Regions from separate parts of the Homo sapiens genome. Here regions 1 and 3 are each linked to region 2. Evidence: promoter capture Hi-C in 16 types of primary human blood cells and fetal thymus (Javierre and others, 2016). All regions are on one chromosome and are shown on one strand. Each heading gives the region's core, a stretch centred on a gene start or on the middle of the fragment in contact. The rest is flanking DNA. Distances are from core to core; before and after follow the strand shown.

Region 1 (2,886 bases), core at 41-2,540, 670 kb after region 2:
CTACAGTGCAGTGGTGTGATCACAGTTCACTGAAGCCTCAAGCTCCTGGGCTCAAGTGATCATCTCACGTCAGCTTCCCAAGTAGCTGGGACTACAGACACGTGCCTCCATGACCAGCTAAAATATTACAGCAGGTTTTTTTTTTTTTTTTTTTTTTTTTGGAAGACAGGGTCTCACTCTATCACCCGGGCTGGAGTGCCAGGGGTGCAATCATAGCTCCACTTCCTGAGCTCAGGTGCTCCTTCGTCTGATTCCCAAGCAGCTGGGACTACAGTGCACAGCATCATGCCCAGCTAATTTTTTGTAGAGATGGGGTTTTGCCATTTTGCCCAGGGAGGTCCTGGGCTCAAGCGATCTGCCCACCTTGGCCTCTAATGGTGCTGAGATTACAGGCGTGAGCCACTGCACCCGGCCTTCAGCATTATTTGTAATGGTCATGAGACTGGGAAAAAACTTTATGTCCATCAGTGGGAGATTTGATAAAATAAATTAAGGCACACCTAGAGAATACTCTAAGAAAAAGGGCATTTTTAAAAAATGCTATAAAAATAATCACTTTCACACCAATATAAACAGATCTCCAAGTTGTACTAAGCAGAAAAAGGGAAGGTGTGGAGTAGTGCATATATTAAATACCAGTGAGTTAAACTGTTTTATGTGGGAAGAAGAACATCTATGCGTATCAGTTTTTAAATGCTAAGATGTCTCTAGAAGCTTACATAAGAAACTAAAAACACTTGCCTAGGGTAGGGAATTGGCTGACTAGAGAAAAGGTGTATAATTAAATTTTATTTATTTATTTATTTTGAGACAGAGTCTAGCTCTGTCACCAAGGCTGGAGTGCAATGGCGTGATCTGGGCTCACTGCAACCTTCATCTCCTGGGATCAAGCGATTCTCTTGCCTCAGCCTCCCAAGTAGCTGGGACTACAGGCATGTGCCACCACACCCTGCTAATTTTTCTATTTTTAGTAGGGACAGTGTTTTGCCATGTTGGCCAGGCTGGTCTCAAACTCCTGGCCTGAAGTGATCCACCTACCTCGGCCTCCCAAAGTGCTGGGATTACAGGTGTGAGCCACCACAGCCAGCCATCATTAAATTTTAAATTAAAAACAACAACAAAAAGGCAGTGGCTCATGCTCATAATCCCACTGCTTTAGAAGGCTGAGGCAGAAGGATTGCTTGAAGCCCGGGGTTCAAGACCAGCCTGAAAAACATAATGAGACTCTGTGTCTACAATAAAATAAAATAAATTAGCCAGGGTGGTGTGCACACCTGTAGTCCCAGCTACTGGGGACACTGAGATGGAAGCATCACTTGAGCCCAAAAGTTTAAGGCTACAGTGAGCCAAGATCTTGCCACTGCACTCCAGCCTGGGTGACAGAGCAAGAGCTTGTATGTTAAAAACACAAAACAAAACAAAGAAACAAAAAAACAATGAGATGGGGCTGGAGGAGAAGCTGACGGTATGGTGTGAAAATTCCAATTTTCTAACATATCCCACTAAACTCCTCAGTAGTACTTGTACATACACCTGTCAGAACCTCTGTTTCTGTTCAAATTTAGGCTCCTGGGTTTCAACTTCATACAGAAATAAAAGTATGACTCAAAAAGAAGGGTTGTATCTTACTAAGGTTTCTAGTCACCACAGCACTGAACAATGCCTGGTATCTAGGAGGATCTGCATCTTTGGTTACCTCAGCAAACACTGTGGGAATCTATATATTTATCAACTCTTAACTATACACCTGGCACTGTGATGGTTATGAGGAAAAACCGGCGAAGACCTGGTCGGCCAAATAACTCCAAATGAAGACTCAATATTGAAATGAAGTCACCAAGATGTCCAAAGGGACTGTTGCCATACAAAAGCTTGATAGAACAGGATTCCCAGAAATGTTTCTAAAGTACATTATTATATTTTATCTAATATAAAGAAATATCTGCTTATAAACTTCATCATTTCATATACCATTAAGAGAGAAAAACACCCAAGATATGAGACTAATAGGAAACCGGCATAAAGCTGAAGGTAAATGAAAAATAAGCCTTCCATATGGAAGGGCGAACAAGGAGACTTGTAGGTTTCATTCTTGACACTGAGTGGGAAACAAAAAAAATCCCCTGAGCACTGGTAACAAGCCACCACCAGTGTGGTCCAAAACCCTCAAACAGAGAACGCCAAGTGGTCACAGGCTGGCAGTATACCCAGGTGACCAGCACAAGCAAACATGAATTCTCTCTGGAAAAACACAGGAAATATGGCATTTGTAATCTGTATGAGAAAATTTAGGCATGAAGCTTTACACTCTCTTCCAAACACTAAAAACATTCTTAAAATTTCTCATGGCTCATTTTCCAGTAATATTTTCTACGACTCTGTAAATTATATTATGGCTTAAAGAAAAACGTGACAAATCTAAAGGCTCTCAAATACAGAAGCAAACAGTCAATCATGCTCTATTATCCAAATATATTAATAAAATCTATGCAATTGTTAAGAAATGGTCTCACTTTTTAGCCAAAAAGGAAGAAAGTTTAAGGTGACTCCCTTTCTCTAATTATAAACTTACTTTATTGCTGCCAACTTTTTGGATAGCGTTCCCTCTGCTGGAATCTTTCAAGAGAAAAAAAAAAGTATTAAAGACAGTATTTGAAGTATTACCTCAAATTAATATTTTAAGTGAAGTCTAAGTATCTAACTCCAGTACACTGTGATCAAAAACATTCTAGGGAAATAAACAAATCAGAAACAACTGTCCTAATTTTTTTTTTTTTTTCCTGTTGAGATGGAGTCTCACACTGTCACCCAGGCTGGAGTGCAGTGGCATGATGTCGGCTCATTGCAAGCTCCACCTGCTGGGTTCACAACATTCTCCTGCCTCAG
Region 2 (2,924 bases), core at 414-2,913:
ATCAACAGTAACGTAACAACTTGAAGGGAGGCCTTGCTGTTTCATTACTCTTGCACATAGTAGGGAGCAAAGCTCAAACAGTTAAAAAATAAAATCTGATTCATTCTATTAAATCAATGGCAAAAATACACTCAAAAGGTCGACTTAAGAAACATGTTTAACAAATATTAGTAAATCCTGTTCCTAATTACCAGGGGAAATTTCAGAAGAGTGTGATGGCCTCTATGACGCTTAATTCTAACACTCAACACTCAATTCACTAATTCACTGGTCAGTACAGATAAATAACAAATAATTTTTCTTTCAACTTGATAGATATCAACCGTTTCTATTGGGTTGAATCTACCATGATATAGTGCAGATTTGGGTCTGTAAAATCTTGCACGGGCTCCATTATCTTCCTAAACTATTCCAGGGGTGCTGTATTCCACCGGCTCTGGGTTAGAACGTTCCCAACCGCAGTGATTTGTGACTTCAAAGAACACCCTCGAGAAGGGGTTCCAAAGGTTTTCAGGCTTTAGGGGAGCAACGCGGAATAACCAAATTCTGCATGGATCGGAGTGACGACCCCGATAAGCTAGTTTTTAGAAGCAGGAAGACTCCCCTCTGGGGCAGCCAAGTAGGTAGCACTAGGCTGGGGGGCAAAGAGGCAGGTACCGTTTCCTTCCTGGGGCCCGCAGGTGCAGTCGGCCCCCAGCTCCGCCGACACCTCCACCGCCCTCTGCAGCAGGTAGCGCGCTCGCTTGCGCGTCAGGGCGTCCGCCTGGCCCAGCCCCGCCTGCACCGTCCTCCAGAAGCGCCAGCAGCGCCGGGCGTCCGGGCCCGCCTCGCGCGCGCCGCGGGCGCGGTCGCCGCCGGGCTCGGGCAACAGCTTCTCGGCCAGGGCGCTCAGGACCAGCAGCTTCTCCTCTACGCGGCCGGACCCCAGGGACGCCCCAGGCGCGGCCAGCCCGCCCCACACGGCCCGCAGCGCCGCCCCGCCACATTGGACCAGCACTGGCAGCAGTCGCCCGGCCACCAGCGCCGCCGCGTCCTCGGCAGGCCCGGCCTCATCCCCGTCCCCGCCCCCGCCCAGCGCCAGGGCGACGGCGGTCCCCGCCACGCGCTCCAGTAGCGGCCCGTCCTCGCGGGGCCGCAAACATGGCCCGACGGCTGCTAGCACTTCCACGGCAGCCTCGGCGCCAGGCGCGCGCCACCCGGCGAGCAGATCGCGCAGCGCCTCCTCAGCCAGCGCGGCCGCCAGCTGCGGACGCCCGGCCAGGCGGACGCACGAGCGCAGGGCCGCGCCCGCCGCCCTCAGCACGCGCCGGCGGTGGCGAGGCTGCAGACTGGGGTCCGGGCCGCCCGCGGGGCGTCCGCGCAGGCTCCGCAGCAGTGGCACGAGGTACCCTGCAGCCACCTCGCGCGCCGCCTCCGGGAGCGCGCCTGCGCCCCCGCTGCCGCGCGCCTCCTCGTCCTCGAGCCGCTGCAGAAGGAAGCGCAGCGTCTCCACGCGCTCCGCGGATGCCTCCCCTTGGCACAGCGCCCCAAGCAGGGCCCGGGGGTCCCGGCTCTGCGAGAGCAGCGCTTCCGCGAGCACCCACTCCATTTGCCGAGCGCCCGCGCCACCGGCCCGGGCTCCCAAAGGAAGGCGCCGGCGTGTGCGATGCGTGCGCACAGGACCGGCCGGCCCCTACGTGCGCGTGCGCCGACGGAGCCGGGCGCGCGGCCGCAGAGAGGGGGATCCCAGCCCGGCTTGGTGCAGCTCAGCTTCCCTTGGGTTCCTGCCACCAACCCTGCCTAGATAGAACCCACCTGGTCTCTTATTTTTAGGAGAAACGAGGCCTTCGTTAAAAGTTAATGTAGTATCTACACCAGCTTCATCGATTCCTGATTGGAGGTTGGTCTGCCCAGGACCCTAAATCAGGCGTGCCTGTGAGCATAAACCAGTTCACAGAAGGTGCACAGCAGAATCACTTTAGATTATTTTCCAAACGTTGCATGATGGGCACCATCCACAAAGAGACTGACACAGTAGGTCTGAAATTGGTTCTGGACATCTGCATTAAAAATAAGTCATGAAAACACAAGAATGATTTAGACGTAAGGCCAGGAGTGAGAAGTGTTACCGGTGGAGGGTGTCCAGGTCCAAGAATTGGACAAAGCGCACAAACAAAGCAAAGACAGAATGAAGCCACAAAAGCAGAGATTTATTGCAAAAGTACACTCCACAGGGTGGGGGCAGACCCAAGCAAGCCGCTCAAGGGGGGCTGGTTACAGAATTTTCTGGGGTTTAAATACCTATAGAGGTTTCAATTGGTTACTTGGTGTACACACTATGTAACTGAAGAGGATAAAATGAAGTTACAAAGTTATTTACTTGGTGTACTCCCTATGTAAATGAAGAGGATATTTCCTGTCATAGCTGAAGTGTTTCTATCTGATTTGGTTCTAGGGAGTTTTTGGATTCCCTGCCTCCAGGCCCTATTCTCCTGCCTTAGAGGTACCTATAGCAATGTGCTAGGATTCAGCTAAAACCAAGATGCCCACGCCAGCCCTCACAGCCAAGTGCCCAAGATGACTCCAGGATGCAGAGCCTCCTGCACAATGCATGTGCTCCCATGTGCAAACTCAAAAATAGTCCCTGTGTCTGTCTTTTCTGTATTTCTGACAGCATCCATTGCTAAATAGAGAAACAGAAAACCTCACCTCGGCATGCATGGTGTGGATTTGGTTCCTGGCTCAATTTGAGACAAACTAGATCAGTGACATAGGGTTTTCTTCGCTACTAAACACAAAGATCTGCCTCTTAGTCAATAGAGAAAACAGGGTCCCAACTTCAAAGAGCTTGACATATAATAACATAATGGATAAGACAAAAATTAGTTATTTAAATTTACAGTTATTTTTATATAAAGTTATCTGACTTTAAGGTTATCTGACAT
Region 3 (2,721 bases), core at 127-2,626, 680 kb after region 2:
CCTGTCCCCTCTGTTGTAATTGCCCTCCTCTTTCCCCTTCTGCAAAATAATGTCCATCCTTCAAGGCCTACCTCAGATACTGTCTAACTTAGTATTTCTTTGCAGCCAGGTGCGGTGGCTCGCCTGTAATCCTAACACATTTGGAGGCCGAAGTGGGAGGATTGCGTGAGGACTAGGAGTTTGAACCAGCCTGGTCGATCTAGCGAGACTTATTCTCTACAGAAAAGAAATTAGACGGGCACCTTCGCGCTCGGCGCCTGTAGTCCCAGCACTTTGAGAGGCTCGGGCAAGAGGATCCCTTGAGCCCTGGAAGGTCGAGGCTGCAGTAAGCTGTGATCGCATCACTACACTCCAGCCTAAGCGGCAGACCCTGGCTCAAAAAAAAAAAAAAAAAAATTCTTTGCTATTTACAATAGGGATATTTTCCCAAGCCCCCATGGTACTTACTATAATCATTTTTGGTCTGCTTTAGTGTTAGTTACAGTCTCTTTAGATGTAAAGGCAAGACAGTAAGGATTATGTTTTATTCATCATGTATGCTGTGTCTCTATTAGCTGTACATAGTGAATATTTGTTAAATTGACTCTCAGGGTAATAAAAGATTACTAGTTAAATCATCCAATAGTTTGAGTGGCAAAATAGGATTTGACTTTGTTCTTATTTTCTTTCAGACAAGGTGTTGCTCTGTCACCCAGACTGGAGTGTAGTGGTGAGATCACGGCGCACTGCAGCCTTGACTTCCTGGGCTCAAGCCATCCTCCCACCACGGAGTAGCTGGAACTGCAAGCAGCAGCACCATGCCCAGCTAATTTTTTTTTTTTTTTTGGAGACAGAGTCTCGCTCTGTCGCCCAGGCTGGACTGCAGTGGCGCGATCTCAGCTCACTGCAACCTCCGCCTCCCGGGTTCAAGTGAGTCTCCTGCCTCAGCCTCCCAAGTAGCTGGGATTACAGGTGCATGCCACCATGCCCAGCTAATTTTTGTATTTTTTTAGTAGAGACCGGGTTTCACCATGTTAGCCAGGCTGGTCTCGAACCCCTGACCTTGTGATCCGCCCACCTCAGCCTCCCAAAGTGCTGGGAGTACAGGTGTGAGCCACCGCGCCTGGCCTTTTTTTTTTTTTTTTTTTTTAAATAGAGATTGGGGTTTCACTGTGTTTCCCAGGCCGGTCTTGAACTCCTGAGCTTGAGCAGTCCTCCTGCCTTGGCCTCCCAAAGGGTTGGAATTACAGGCGTGAGCCACTGCATCCAGCCAGGATTTGACTTTGAGTCTTTTGGGGACAGCCTAAGCTTTTTGAAAGCTACTCAACCAAGTTGACTGGGAATATATGTGACTTTTACTTCCCCCTTCAGAGAAATTTATGAAAAAAATCCACAATATTCAACTGCTCGGCCCTGGGTTTTGATTACTGGGCCCCTTATTTTGGTTTCCCATAATCTTGATCTTCTGGTATTTCACAAAGATGAAGAAAGCTTATCCATACATGCATGCGATACAACTCAAAAATCTGTTCTATCCAGTCCAGTGAAGAAATTATATTCTATATTTCTAGAATTATAGAATTCTATTCTGTGTATTTTTTGAGACGGAGTTTCACTCTTGTTGCCCAGGCTGGAGTGCAGTGGCACGATCTTGGCTCATTGCAACCTCCGCCTCCCAGGTTCAAGCGATTCTCCTGCCTCAGCCTCCCGAGTAGTTGGGATTACAGGCATGCACCACCATGCCTGGCTAATTTTATATTTTTAATAGAGACAGGGTTTCTCCATGTTGGTCGGGCTGGTCTCGAACTCCTGACCTCAGGTGATCCGCTCGCCTTGACCTCCCAACGTGCTGGGATTACAGGTATGACCCACTGTGCCCAGCTAGGTAGCAGATACTTATAGAAGAAAACAGACTGCGAAAGCAGCTGTGGTTGCAGATAGTTTTAAAATTATCTTCATTGCTGTTCAGTGCTGTTTTTAACCATTTAGAGATCACTTACTGCTTTGAGAGTTTTTTAAAATATGAGGACATGGTGGGACAAGGTGGCTCACGCCTATAATCCCAGCACTTTGGGAGACCAAGACGGAAGGAATGCAAGCCCAGGAGTTTCAGATCAGCGACTGCGCCATTTGCACTCCAGCCTGGGCAACAAGAGCGAAACTCCGTCTCAAAAAAACAAAAGGAGGCCGGGTGCGGTGGCTTACGCCTGTAATCCCAGCGCTTTGGGAGGCCGAGGTGGGTGGATCATCTGAGGTCAGAAGTTTGAGATCAGCCTGGCCAACATGGTGAAACCCCATCTCTACTAAAAATACAAAAATTAGCTAGGCATGGTGGCGGGCGCCTGTAATCCCAGCTAGTCGGGAGGCTGATGCAGGAGAACCACTTGAACCCGGGAGGCAGAGGTTGCAGTGAGCCAAGATGGCGCCATTATACTCCAGCCTGGGCGACAGAGCGAGATTCTGTCTAAAACAAAACAAAACAAACAAAAAAAAGAAATTAACAAGACCCCACTCTAAAGTTTTTTCAGTAGGAAAAAAAACGTTTTGGAGAACACCGTTAAGAAACGTATCATCTTGGGTGGGCGCGGTGGCTCATGCCTGTAATCCCAACACTTTGTGAGGTCAAGGCGGGCAGATTACGAGGTCAGGAGATCGAGACCATCCTGACTAACACGGTGAAACACCCCTCTCTACTAAAAATACAAAAAATTAGCTGGGTGCAGTGGCACGTGCCTGTAGTCC

What was found. The method cuts DNA at HindIII sites, captures the fragments that hold promoters and counts their contacts. A CHiCAGO score of 5 or more calls a contact.
Region 1: a contact is called between a fragment that was not itself captured here and the fragment with the promoter of TARBP1 in region 2, in 3 of 17 cell types (total CD4 T cells, activated CD4 T cells and naive CD4 T cells). The highest score is 5.7, in total CD4 T cells.
Region 3: a contact is called between a fragment that was not itself captured here and the fragment with the promoter of TARBP1 in region 2, in 1 of 17 cell types (naive B cells). The highest score is 5.0, in naive B cells.

What each region holds. Positions count from the first base shown.
Region 1 is chr1:235,145,832-235,148,717 of GRCh38, forward strand. It overlaps RBM34 (RNA binding motif protein 34), which reads right to left. Exons shown (of 11, transcript NM_015014.4): 6 at 2,573-2,616. Among named protein-coding and RNA genes, the nearest start is that of RBM34, 14 kb to the right of the region's middle. RefSeq lists an enhancer at 1,731-1,790. The HindIII fragment of the contact is 1,157 bases long and covers 713-1,869 here.
Region 2 is chr1:234,477,516-234,480,439 of GRCh38, forward strand. TARBP1 (tRNA guanosine 2 -O-methyltransferase TARBP1) reads right to left here and starts at 1,664. Exons shown (of 30, transcript NM_005646.4): 1 at 658-1,664. The coding sequence starts at 1,588. RefSeq lists silencers at 761-1,560, 1,591-1,780. The HindIII fragment of the contact is 13,603 bases long and covers 1-2,924 here.
Region 3 is chr1:235,161,882-235,164,602 of GRCh38, forward strand. No RefSeq gene overlaps it. Among named protein-coding and RNA genes, the nearest start is that of RBM34, 2.0 kb to the left of the region's middle. The HindIII fragment of the contact is 183 bases long and covers 1,286-1,468 here.